Linked DNA regions of Homo sapiens: region 1 is linked to region 2. Evidence: promoter capture Hi-C in human tissues and cell types (Jung and others, 2019). All regions are on one chromosome and are shown on one strand. Each heading gives the region's core, a stretch centred on a gene start or on the middle of the fragment in contact. The rest is flanking DNA. Distances are from core to core; before and after follow the strand shown.

Evidence for each region. The method cuts DNA at HindIII sites, captures the fragments that hold promoters and counts their contacts. A contact is called where the count stands out against the background at its distance.
Region 1: a fragment that was not itself captured here is called in contact with the fragment with the promoter of KIF3C in region 2 in 1 of the 25 tissues and cell types used here (stomach).

Annotation. Positions count from the first base shown.
Region 1 is chr2:25,831,638-25,837,949 of GRCh38, forward strand. ASXL2 (ASXL transcriptional regulator 2) reads right to left here. Exons shown (of 13, transcript NM_018263.6): 3 at 3,901-3,903. Among named protein-coding and RNA genes, the nearest start is that of ASXL2, 44 kb to the right of the region's middle. The HindIII fragment of the contact is 3,251 bases long and covers 2,457-5,707 here.
Region 2 is chr2:25,979,364-25,985,548 of GRCh38, forward strand. KIF3C (kinesin family member 3C) reads right to left here and starts at 3,134. Exons shown (of 8, transcript NM_002254.8): 1 at 1,010-3,134. The coding sequence starts at 2,554. RefSeq lists enhancers at 377-886, 887-1,395, 1,905-2,413, 2,414-2,923 and silencers at 2,913-3,072, 3,213-3,382. The HindIII fragment of the contact is 11,133 bases long and covers 1-6,185 here.

The sequences.
Region 1 (6,312 bases), core at 2,832-5,331, 150 kb before region 2:
AATGAGACCCTGTCTCAAAAAACAAAAAACCTGAAGATGTAACAGGATTTAAAAAGAAAAAGAAAAAGTAATAAAGAAAAATGAAGAAATAAACCTACAGATTCAAGAAACTCAGTGAATCTAAATAGGATAAATCTAAATAAGTCCACCAAGATACATCATAATTAAACTTCTGAAAACTAAATCCAAAGAAAAAGTCCTGAAAGCAGAGAGAAACAACACATTACTACAGGGAAACACCAATTCAAATGACAATAGATTTCTCGCCTAAAACCACATAGGCCAGAAGGAAGTGGCATGACATTTCACTAGTGCTGAATGAAAAGAACTGTCAATTGTGAATTCTATATCTGATGAAACAGCTTCAGACTAAGTAAAACTAAAAGTAGTTTACTAAGAGAAGTAGAACTATTCTTAAAGAATGACTAAAGGAAGTCATTCAATAGAATGGAAATGATAAAAGAAGCAATCCTGTAGCACCAGGAAGAAAAAACAGAAAGAACAGGAATAGGTATATACCACAGACTATGCTTCTCATAAATTTTATAAATCACATTTCATGACTGGAACACAAATGTTAATACCATCTCATACTCAAGAATCTAAATGGAAGTACGGTTTCCACACTTCACTTAGAGTGGTAAAATGATTATCAGCAGACTGTGATAAATCACGTGTATATATTGTAATACCCAGTTGAAACAGTTAAGAAAAGCATGTAAAGACATACAAAGAAATACAATACTATAAATAAATCAAGACAGAATCCTAAAATATGATCCATGAGGAAGTCAAGAAAAGAGAAACAGAGGAATGAGAAATAGAGGAAACAGAAAACAAAAAAACAAAAAGGCAAACTCACCTATCAACAATTACTTTAAATATAAATGGTGTAAACACACAAATTAAAAGGCAAGGATTGGCAGCATGGGCCAAAAAAAAAAAAATTCTAAACTATGCAGTTTACAAGAAATTCATTTACAGTTTCAAGGTGTCTTTAAAATTAAACATGCACTTACCACACAACCCAGCAACAGCACTTTCTGTACATTTATCCCAGAGAATGGAAAATGTATGCCCATACAAAAACATTTACACAAATGTTCATAGAAGTTTTATTTTTAATAGCCAAAGCCTGGAAACAATTCAGATATCATGCAACGGATAAACAGTTAGAAACGGTCGCACGTCCATGTCAAAGAATACTACTCGGCAATAAAAAAGAATGAACTATGAACACAATAACTTGGAGGACTCTCCAGAGACATACAATGAATGGGGGCTGCGGGGGGAGCCAATCCCAGATGGTTACATACTCTATGATTCCATTAAACACTTGAAATGACAAAATTATAGAAATGTAGGACGGACTAGTATAAGGAAGGGGGGCAAGGGGTACTAGGGAAGTACATGTGGTTTTAAAAGGGGAACACAAGGGATATTTGTTGAAAGTATTCTGTATCTTGTGTGGTGGTAGGTACATGAATCTATACACGTGATAAAACCACATAGCACCCTATACACACATACACACACCCCGGTACCAGTAAAACCAGGTGGATTATATCAGAAACAATATTCTCGCTGTGACACTGCACTATGGTTTTGTACAATGTTACCATTAGGAGAATCTGCATAAAAGGTTACTTCCTACAACTGCTTATGGCTTACATTTTTCTGTTGTACTTTAATTTTCTATAGTGAGCAATGGACAGCTGTTGTTTATTCCTGGCCAATATCCATTCCCTCTTCTTCTGCAAAGAATGCTCAATTTTGGCTGGGCATGGTGGCTCATGCCTGTAATCCCAGCACTTTGGAAGGCTGAGGTGGGCAGATCACTTGAGGCCAGGAGTTTGAGATCGGCCTGACCAACACAGTGAAACCCCATCTCTATTAAAAATACAAAAAATTAGCTGGGCGTGGTAGCGTGCGCCTGTAATCTCAGTTACTCAGGTGGCTGAGGCAGGAAAATTGTTTGAACTCAGGAGGCAGAGGTTGCAGTGAGCTGAGATTGCACCACTGCACTCCAGCCTGGGCAACAGAGCAAGACCCTGTCTCAAAAAAAAAAAAGCTTAATTTTGCTTTGGGGAACTATGCCCTCCCCTACTGGAAATAGTCTTGGTAAGACTGTCCATCAAGATATCTCACCATCCCTGGGCACTGGGCCAACCAAGTTCACTCTTCCCTTAAAGTTTAACCTTGAGCAGAGTAGACAATGACTAATTTAGCCCAGCTGCAGTGTCTTGATGAGACTATGCATTAGTTCTATCTACCTGATCTCTGAAGCTGCCTTCCTTCTCCTAATTTCAGAGCCCGTTTCTTGCCTTTGAGTCTGAGTCTTGCCTCTGCTCCCATATTCTTTAAATAAATCTTGTTTTGCTTAAGTTATTCACATTTGGTTCCTATCATTTGCACTTAAAGAACCCAATCAATGACCAGGCGCAGTGGCTCACGCTTGTAATCCCAGCACTTTGGGAGGCCAAGGCGGGCAGATCACTTGAGGTCAGGAAGTCAAGACCAGCCTGGCCAGCATGGTAAAACCCCGTCTCTACTAAAAATACAAAAAGTAGCCGGGGTTGGTGGCAGGCACCTGTAATCCCAGCTACAAGGGAGGCTGAAACAGAAGAATCACTTGAACCTGGGAGGCAGAGGTTGCAGTGAGCCGAGACCATGCCACTCCACTCCAGCTTGGGTGACAGAGTGAGACTCTGTCTCCAAAAAAATAAATAAATAAATAAGAACAAATCAAATACATGCTCCCTTCAAACAAACATAACACAAAACAAAATATACCTATTTTATTTTTTAATTATAATTTTAACTTTGTAAGACCTTAATTAAGCTTTCATCCACAAACTCTTGCTTACAATAAACAGGTTCTTACAAATGAACTTAATGGACTACAAATATAACTAGAGTTAAAAAGACTAACTACGCTCTAATTATAACCCAAGCATGCCATGTCCAAGTAACATGAAAATACATGGGCATGACTGTTGCCCTCAAGTCTCACAGGCAATACGACTGTTGCCCTCAGGTCTCACAGGCGTGTAACACGGGAACTGCTATAGTGGAGGTGAATCTAAAAGGCCATGCCCACACACAAAAAGTCAATTCAGTAAAGGATCCAGACTGATTTTTAACCCATTCTGCCCTGGTTTTAAGTATCATGCCCCTAAAGGATTTACCAATTTTTTTTTTTTTAGACGGAGTCTTGCTGTGTTGCCCAGGCTAGAGTGCAGTGGCATGATCTCGGCTCACTGCAACCTCCACCTTGTGGGTTCAAGCAATTCTCCTGTCTCAGCCTCCCGAGTAGCTGGGATTACGGGCGCCGGCCACCACACCCAGCTAATTTTTGGATTTTTTAGTAGAGATGCAGTTTCACCATATTGGTCAGGCTAGTCTCGAACTCCTGACCTCAAGTGATCCACCCACCTCGGCCTCTCAAAGTGCTGGGATTACCAGGTGTGAGCCACCATGCCCAGCCGATTTACCAATATTTTATCTAAATTAAGAGCACAAACATACATTTTCAATCTTACAGCCATAAAGCAAATGTTAATATACATGTTTCCAGTCTACTAAATACTTTCATTATTACTCTGCAGAATACTTGGCATCCCAACGCTTTTATAAGTCAAATGTTGATTTTAATAAACCTTAATGTAGATCGGATTTCTAAACTTATGATCAAACAATAATTACAAACTGCAAGAACCAAACAAAGCACACTTAACGAATAAACACTAACATAATAATATCGATATTACTTAGTTTCTGGACTAATTATTTAGTTTTATAAAGTAAAACTCATGCATCCAAAGGTAAGTTCAATTAAATTTATAAAAGTGTGCTTTATAATTGCATAATACTTCTTTAGAATAAAGTAATACTTCTTACCTTCTGGAGTTGGAATGCAGTGCAGGAAAATGAAAGAAGGAAAAAAAAAGCTTTTAATTTTTCTTACAAAGCAACAATAAAACCAAAAATTAAACTGTCCCTTCCCATCCCAGCAATATCCACAATTCCCCAAATTAGTAACCCCCTCATTAATTTCTTCATTAAAATTTATAAATTAGCCAAAAATATCATATCAAAATGTCTAAAGATAAACAAATTTAGCTAAACAGTCTAAACTACTTCAGAAAACAGTTGCAGTAATTTGATTATGTAACAGAGTAAAACTGTTAGGGCATTTAAATGTGGATACAATGAATACTTCCCATTCTTTAATATTCTTCCCATGCATTTCAATTTCAAGGAGCCATCATAACGCCATCAGCTGTGGACTTAAGGTTTATTAGCTTCCCTGTGATACATAATGGAGCTCTTATGGATCTGAATTACAATGGATAAGAATACTCTTTTCTGTCAATATCCAAGCATTTTGTTGTCATTTTTTTCATTACTAATCCTTCTTGACATCCCTACCAGGTTTGTGGGCTTGAAAGCAGATTGCAACTAACAGATAGGGAAGATGGCTGGGCACAGTGCCTCATGCCGAGGCCAAAGCAGGATTGCTTGAGCCCAAGAATTCAAGATGAGCCTGAGCAACATAGTGAGACCTCATCTCTACAAAAAATATTTTTAAAATGTTTAAAAAGAAAAAGAGGAGGAAGATGCAGGCTTAACCACAAAGGAATCCTCCAACCTTAGATATATTATCAATACAAATAATGTTCTTCATTCTAAAACTAAGCTCTTTCTAATGAAATCACTTCAAGGCAATTCAGCTTGGCAAATAATCAAATGATCTACTCTGCAGGGATAAGGATTTCTGCTGAAAAGTAGTAGAGAATATTGACTTTATTTCCCTTGCTATATACACTTTTGCATGTGGAGAGATATGGGAAAAAAAATAGGTGCTCTGATTGGTTTTTAGTATAAAGTAAGCTAAAACATATAACCTTAAATACTGTATGAAAGAGATTATTTTCTTCATAAACAAATTAGTACTAATCAGATGTCATTAGGACTCCCCCAGACAGAGGTAAAATCTCAGTCTCTAAAATGTTTATTGAGCATAATCTTTGCTGGGTGGTTCCCAGAGTTCTTTACAATCTAGGCAGTTGGCCACACTCATTCATTAGCTATATAACTTACTCACCTATACTAATCTTATAGTGTGAAAGATTCAAACTCACCACAATTACTAATTATATATCATGAACCCTTGGGATCACTCATGAATGGTCTAATTCATAAAATGCCAAATTTGTGGACAATAAATTCACGAACAAATAATCTTCCTAATTTATTTCCCCTCTTCTATTCATGAATGGAAAGACAAGAAAAACTAGTCAGAGAATAGGGTCTCAAGAACTGAATATTTTACTATTTTTCTCTTCTTTCCTAAAAACTCTATTTCTCTATTAGCTGATAGAAGAGTCAAGATATTACAGTTAATAAGACGAGCAAAGCAGGTTAAGGAAACTCCAAAGGGGGGTGGGGGGGGGGGGCGTGGGAAGCACTAAAGGCAATAGCTACTTCAGAAGGAAGGCATTAAGTCCGACACTTAATGCTATAAAAGCACATCTGTAAACACTAATGGCAGCCACAGCTGATGGAAGGGAAAAACCTATTGTATATCTAGCCTAAGCACAGAAGTAGTAATGAGTAGTTACAGTAAAGAATTAATAGGCATGGTTTCAAAGAATATTCAGGGCGTGTATTCTGTCAACAGTGTGTAGGCTTAATGTGTAGATTTAATTGTTCTATTTTTTGTAAGCCAGAATATCCAAATTGCATACAACTAGTCTCAAGTTCTTATCTGTTAGATATAAAGTGACATATTCATGTGATAAAATGACTGCAATTTATTTCAGAACAGCCCAGGGTGTAAATACTATTTATAGTTTATGATGGAGGATGTATCCTTTTGTTTTTACAATTTTCGAAAAGTAAAAATTTATATTTTAAAAAAGCGTCTTCAGGCCAGGTACTGTGGCTCACATCTGTAATCCCAGCAGTTTGGGAGGCCAAGGTGGGAGGATCCCTTAAGCCCAGGAGTTTGAGACCAGCCCGTGCAACACAGAGACCTTGTCTCTACAAAAAATTTAAAAATTAGCCAGGCATGGTGGTGTGTGCCTGTGGTTCCAGCTACTAGGGAGGCTGAGGTGGGAGAATCACTTGAGGCTGGGAGGTTGAGGCTGCAGTGAGCCGTGATTAAAAAACAAAATAAAACAAAACCAAGAGGCGGCCAGGTGCAGTGGCTCATGCCTGTAAACCCAGCACTTTGGGAGGCCGAAGCAGGCAGACCACTTGAGTCCAGGAGTTCAAGACCAGCCTGAGCAACATGGCAAAACCCTGTCT
Region 2 (6,185 bases), core at 1,884-4,383:
GAATTGGATATTAACTGTGATGAGGCCTCGGGGCAGGGGTCGGTTGGCTTGCTGCTCAGATTAATATAGGCCATAGAATTATCAGATAGGTAGAGCCTCAGAGATCACCCAGGCCAACCCTCTATTTTACAGAAAGGTAAACTGAGGCCTGAGAAAAGAGAGAAGCAACTTACACAAGGCCACTCAATGAGCTGTAGAATGGCTAGGCCAGTCTCTTGGTCTCTGGTATAGAGTTTGGTGCTTTTTCCACCCTACCTCCTGCATAACCCCCAAATCTCTTTCCTAATGATAGCAAGCAATGGCTCCTGCACTGTAAGGCCCAGGGGACCATTTTCCCAGGGAGCAGAATCTGTTCATGGTCCCACTTTGCCCAGCTAAGAACTGAAACAGCATGAGGTCCATGGGTTCCAGCTCAGCTCTGCCACTTCATAGGATGGAACCTTGGTCACGTCACTTCTCCAAGCTTTAATTCCTCACCTCTGAAATGGGGATTTCAGAACTGTGACCCTGGATGGCCAAAGGATCCAATGAGATCATGTATGGATCATATATATGGGGCATTTTTTGAACTGAAGCACTAACCAAATGATATTATTAAAACGACGTGAGGTTTGAAGATGCTGCAGAGGGAGGAAGCCTCAGGGGAGGAGGCTGTGAAGGAACAAGAACCCACATTCACAAGAGGCTGCCTGGCCATCCCACAGACCTGACTGATCCTGAGGCCACCAGCAGGAAATGCCCACAGCAGGTCAGACCACCCCAAGCTCACTGGCTTGAGAGACCGCCTGTCCACGTTGCTTCGTGTGTGTGTGCCTGTGCATGTACCTGGCAGCCCGGTATCACAGCAATTTGCCTGGCTGCTCTGGGGGCACATTTGGCAGGAGGGCAGTGTGCGGTGCTGAGGGAGAACCTCCACTTCAGGCCAGGTCACAGACTCTCAAAGAAGAGCCTCCTTGCCGGGATCCCCTGCGGGGACATCTCGAGTGCCCAGCTCCTCTGGGGCCCTTACCTTGTACTTGGCCGCAAGCAGCTCTGTGGCCTGCTGTTCCCGCCGCAGGTCCTCCAGCATCTTCTCCTTCTCCTCCAGCAGCTTCTGCTTCTCCTCGCTCACCAGGCTGCGGTCATCCTGGATGGCTGCCTTCTCCTCCTCCAGCCGCTCCTTCTGTTCCTGCAGGTAATTCTCCATGTTCTTCTCCAAGGCTGACTCCAGGATGGGCTGGGGCGGGCGGTGGTTGTTGTTGTTGTCATCCTCCTCTTCTGCCACCCAGGCCTCAATCACTGGGCCCTCAGGGTACCCAGGCGGGGCGGACACGGCCTTCTTCCTGCGGCTGCTCTTCCTCCGGGGCCGCTTCCCCAGCATCCCCCTCTTCTCCAGCTGGGCCTTCAGGCGGGCAATCTCCTCTTGGAATTCCCGCAGCAGTGTGTCCTTGGGGTCCTCGTTCACCCGGGGCTTGTTCTTGATGTTCTTGGCTCGGTTGGCAAAGCGCAAGGTGGAGAGGCTCTCATCGTAGCTGTGAGAAGCTGGCCCCAGTGTGGCTACCATGATGGTCTTGGCATTCCCCCCCAGGGAGTCCTGGAGCAGCCGGGTCAGCTTGGAGTCCCGGTAGGGAATGTGGGTGCTCCTGTTGCCCGCCAGGGCAGCAATCACGTTGCCCAGGGCAGATAATGAGAGGTTGATTTTGGAGGCTTCCTTAGGCCTCTCTCCACCAGCACCACCACCACTGCCTCCACCGCCACCACCGCCACCCGAGGATGGTGTGGCTGCCCCTCCCGCTGTGTTGGGGCCTGCCTTGTTCTGCCTCTCGCTGCCAGCCAGGTCCACGAGGTTGAGCTTGCCCACTCGGATGTGGTCCTGGCCATCAGAGCCACGTTCGCTGCACTCCACAGTGATGATGAAGATGGCATGGGAGCGGGAGCTGACCTCATTCATGTGGGTGCTGCCCACAGCCCGGGTCTGGTTCCCCAGGTTCATCACATGCTCAATCTCCTTGACATTCTTGGTGACGAAGGAGGAGAGGTCCTTGATGTAGACGCCAGTCTCGGGGTTCTCTTTCAGCTCTAGCCTCTTGCCCGGCTCCTTGGAGAGCAGGTCTCGAATCTCTTCCTGGTAGATCTCCAAATAGGAGGCCCGGACCAGGTACTGTTGGTTCTGGGAGCGGGAGATGTGGGTGAAGATGTGCTCAAAGGCATTCGGGATGACCCCGCGCAGCTCGGGCTCCACCCAGGTCCCCTGCATGGTATAGGTCTTGCCAGTGCCCGTCTGGCCATAGGCAAACACCGTGCCATTGAAACCCTGGAGCACGGAGTCTATCAGGGGCCTCACGGTTTCGTCATACAGGTCGGCCTGCTTGGAGCTGGCATCATACACGGCGTCAAAGGTGAAGGTCTTGGGCAGCTCCCCCGGGGCGGCGCGGGGGTTCCGCAGGGTCACCTGGCCCAGTTTCACGTCCATGGTCAGGATCTGCTCGTGACCAGCAGCCTCCTCCTTCCTGCTGAGGGGGCGGCACCGGGCCACCACCTTGAGGGCCTCGCTGGCCTTGGTCTTACTGGCCATCTTGCTGCTCTGACCTTCCTGCCCCCGAGCCCCTCCGCAGCCTGGGCGGTCCTGCTATCCTGCTCGCTAGGTCGGGATCAGCGGGGCCGGCCCAGCCCCCAGGCGCAGCTCTTCAATCCGCATGCAGCCTCCTAGGGTGGGGACGCTGGGAGGTGGCCCCAACGCTGCTGCAGTCCGGGCCTCCACCGCTCTCCGGTCCTCTCTGCACCGGCTGGGAGGTGAATTAGGCAGAATCCCCCAGTCGCCGCGGGAGCAGCGCCTGCCGAGCAGCCGTGCCCGGAGCCCGCCCCATGCAGGAGCAGAGGGAGCGCTGCCGTAAACAGCTTCGGCAACAATGAGATAAAGGAAGAGGAAAATGGGATGGGGGTGGGCGGCGAGCTGTCTTCTCCTCCTTCCTCTAGGGATCCATAGCGTGGGCTGCCGGTCGTGGGCGGCCGGGGGTCCCGGGCCTCCCGAGGGCAGAGGCTCACCTGGAGTCCTCCCCCCAAGCTGGGGGATCATTCATTGCAGCCAGCGCGGCTGCTGCTGCCTCTGCCTCCGCCTTCCCCGCCGCCGCCACTGGAGAATGAGAGAGAAAAACAGAAGGGGATGGGGCGGAGCAGCGGCAGCGAGAGTGATGTTGCCGCCGCGCTGCGGCCCCAGCTAAGCCTCCCGACTGGGGTGGGGCAGGGGGCGGGGCCGCGGGGCGGGAGGCGCGAGCCCGGAGCGGCCCGGGTGCGGGGGACAGGGGCGCATCGCCGTCTCTGCACCCCCGCCGACCGCTCCGGGATGACAGGCTCCGGTGCCGACCCAGGTCCTGCGCCCACCAGTCGGGTGCAGCGCAGCCACCGCCCGCCGTCACCCCACCGAGCCCGAGCATGCCGGGAATTGTAGTCCTGCCTTTGTTAACCGGGTTCTGGCAGGTTGCTAATGCCTTTCCCGGTCCCCCAGTCCGGGAGGCGCCTCCCTCATCCGCATGCCACCCCTTGAGTGACTGCTGAGCTTGCACCACCTATGCCTGGTCCCTCCGAGCCACCATCCTCGGACACCCCCCTGCTCCTGCCTTTCTGCCTGCAAATGGGTGCGCGTCACCCCTCCCCGTCAGGGTGTCGCCAGGCCTCCGGGAACCGAACTCCTAAATGTTCCTTGACTCTGTCCTTTCCTCCCCCTGTCCCGGTCTACTTCTGGCCTTCCTCTTCTCTCTGCTGGAGCCCACCTTCCAGCTGATTCTCTCGCACCTTATGTCCGCACAAGCACCCGGGAGCCCCCTCGCTCCTCCTCCACCGCCTTCCTTGTGTGAAAGCCTCTCCATCTTCCGCCTTCGCAGCCTCACCGCCACTACTCCTCTATAGAAAAATCTGTGTTCCAGACAGCCATTTCTTCAGTTATCCAGCGCCTGCTGAGCCCCAGGCCCCATTCTAGGATCTGGGTCCTTCCTGTCCTCAAGCAGTGCACATTCCCGGAACCGTGTTTTGTTTCTTTAACTGGCTTTGCTGTGCAGCATCTTTGTGCTTTTGCCCAGAGGCCTGGTCACCCTTCGGCACTTAGTGCCCTGCCACTTGGGCAGTTCAAGCACCTCCTCCTCCACGAAGCCTTCCCTTAGCAATTTTTTTTTTTCTATAGTGAAAGAGGCACAGAATTTACCTAAGACAAAACCTGGATTGAAGTTCCAGTTCTGATGGCCATCCAATGGAGTGGCTTTGAGCAGTCACTCCCCTTGCTCCAGCCTTAGTTTCCTCATTTATTTTTTTAAAAATTCGAGGCGGGAAAGAAATAATTAACAACTACTTCATGGAATGGTTGGGAGGCTCAAATGAAATAATGAATCATGAAGTACTGTACCATGAGAAGTCCTGCCCTGGCTTGGATTGCCTGACAGCTCCTGCTTCCTTGAGTATCCTGGATAGACCATGTCTGTGCTTGGTGTTCCTCTATGGGAGTCTTAATCTTTTTTTTTTTTCCTGTAGGATACAAATAAAGTGTAATTCCACAAGGCCAAGGACCAAGCCAGAGTCCTATCCATGGTCCACTCTGCAGAGGGCAGTTGAGTCTGTGGACTGAGCCCAAGCTGTCTGTCTTTACTCTCCATATGAGAACCAGATTGAGAGGTGCTGTTATCTGAAACCTGGAGACCCTTCTTCACAGAGGCACCAGAAGAGTCTTTCCACAAAACATTTCCAAGCATGTTATCCTCTAGAGGACCCAATTGTTTAGTTTTCCAACTCAACAAAATTTACCTCCTTAACTCTTCCCCATCCCAGAACTTTAGCGTGAGCTGGACTAGAGGCTTGAGACTTAGCTGAGAGCTTGCCCGCTTCTGAAGCTCCCTGGCCTCCCTCCACCCTCTCCTTGATTAAGCTCCACTGCTTATGATTAACATGGCTTTTGGACCAATTACGGGGTGGGGTTTTGGCTCCGTAGACTAACCCCTCTTGGCTCTCACAACATGATTTCTGGATGGAGCCTTTAGTTCTTCAACTATTTTCTGGTTGCATTCGGCTTTGGGTTTTGAATACCCTTTCTCTGCTTAGGCTAATGTATCTGACACTACAGCGCTGGATAAAAGGGATTCTCACCCTGTTCTCCCCACTTGATGTCACCACCTGGCAGGGGACTTACCCAGATCCTCTTGTGTGAGAGGGAGATTGGAATCGCGTTGCTTACAAGATGTGTGATCCTAGGCCAGGCGCGGTGGCTCACGCCTATAATCCCAGCACTTTGGGAGGCCGAGGCGGGTGGATCATGAGGTCAAGAGATCGAGACCATCTTGGCCAACATCATGAAACCTCATCTCTACTAAAAATACAAAAATTAGCTGGGCATGGTGGTGCACGCCTGTAGTCCCAGCTACTTGAGAGGCTGAGACAGGAAAATAATTTGAACCCAGGAGGCAGAGATTGCAGTGAGGCTAGATGGCGCCACTGCACTCCAGCCTGGCGACAAAGCAAGACTCCATCTCACACACACAAAAAAAGATATGTGATCCTGGGGAAATTATTTAACTTCTCTGAACAGCTATTTTTTCAGTGGAATAAATGAGGATAAGAATGCTTACATTGACCAGGTGTGGTGGCTCAAGCTGTAATCCCAGCTATTCAGGAGGCTGAGGTAGGAGGATCGCTTAAGCCCGTAAGTTCAGGGCTGCAGTGAGCGATGATTGTACCACTGCACTCTAGCCTAGGGTAACAGAGTGAGAACCTGTCTCTGAAAAAAAAAGAGGGCTTACCTTACACATCAGGATTAAGTGAGATAATGTATGCAAAAACTCCTACGACATAGGAGGCACTCCAGAAATAGCAGTTTTCTTTTCTCTTGTCCTTTGCATTCAAGGCTGTTCACTTCAGCGTCTCCATTTTCACCGCTGTCTTCATTTTTCCTTCCTCTTACATACTCAAGTCTCCAGCCACTCTGATTAGCTTAAGTCCCCCAAACACACCCCACTTTTTTGTGTCTCCTTGTGTTTGCTCATGCTGCTCCTCTGCCCGAAATGTCCTAACTTTGTTTTTATTTCAATTAATTTATTTGAGAAGGGGTCTCATTCTGTCACTCAGGCTGGAGTGCAGTGGTATGATTATGGCTCACTGCAGCCTCAAACTCCTGAGCTCAAGCTATCCTCCTGCCTTAGCCTCCCGAATAGCTGGGACTACAGTTG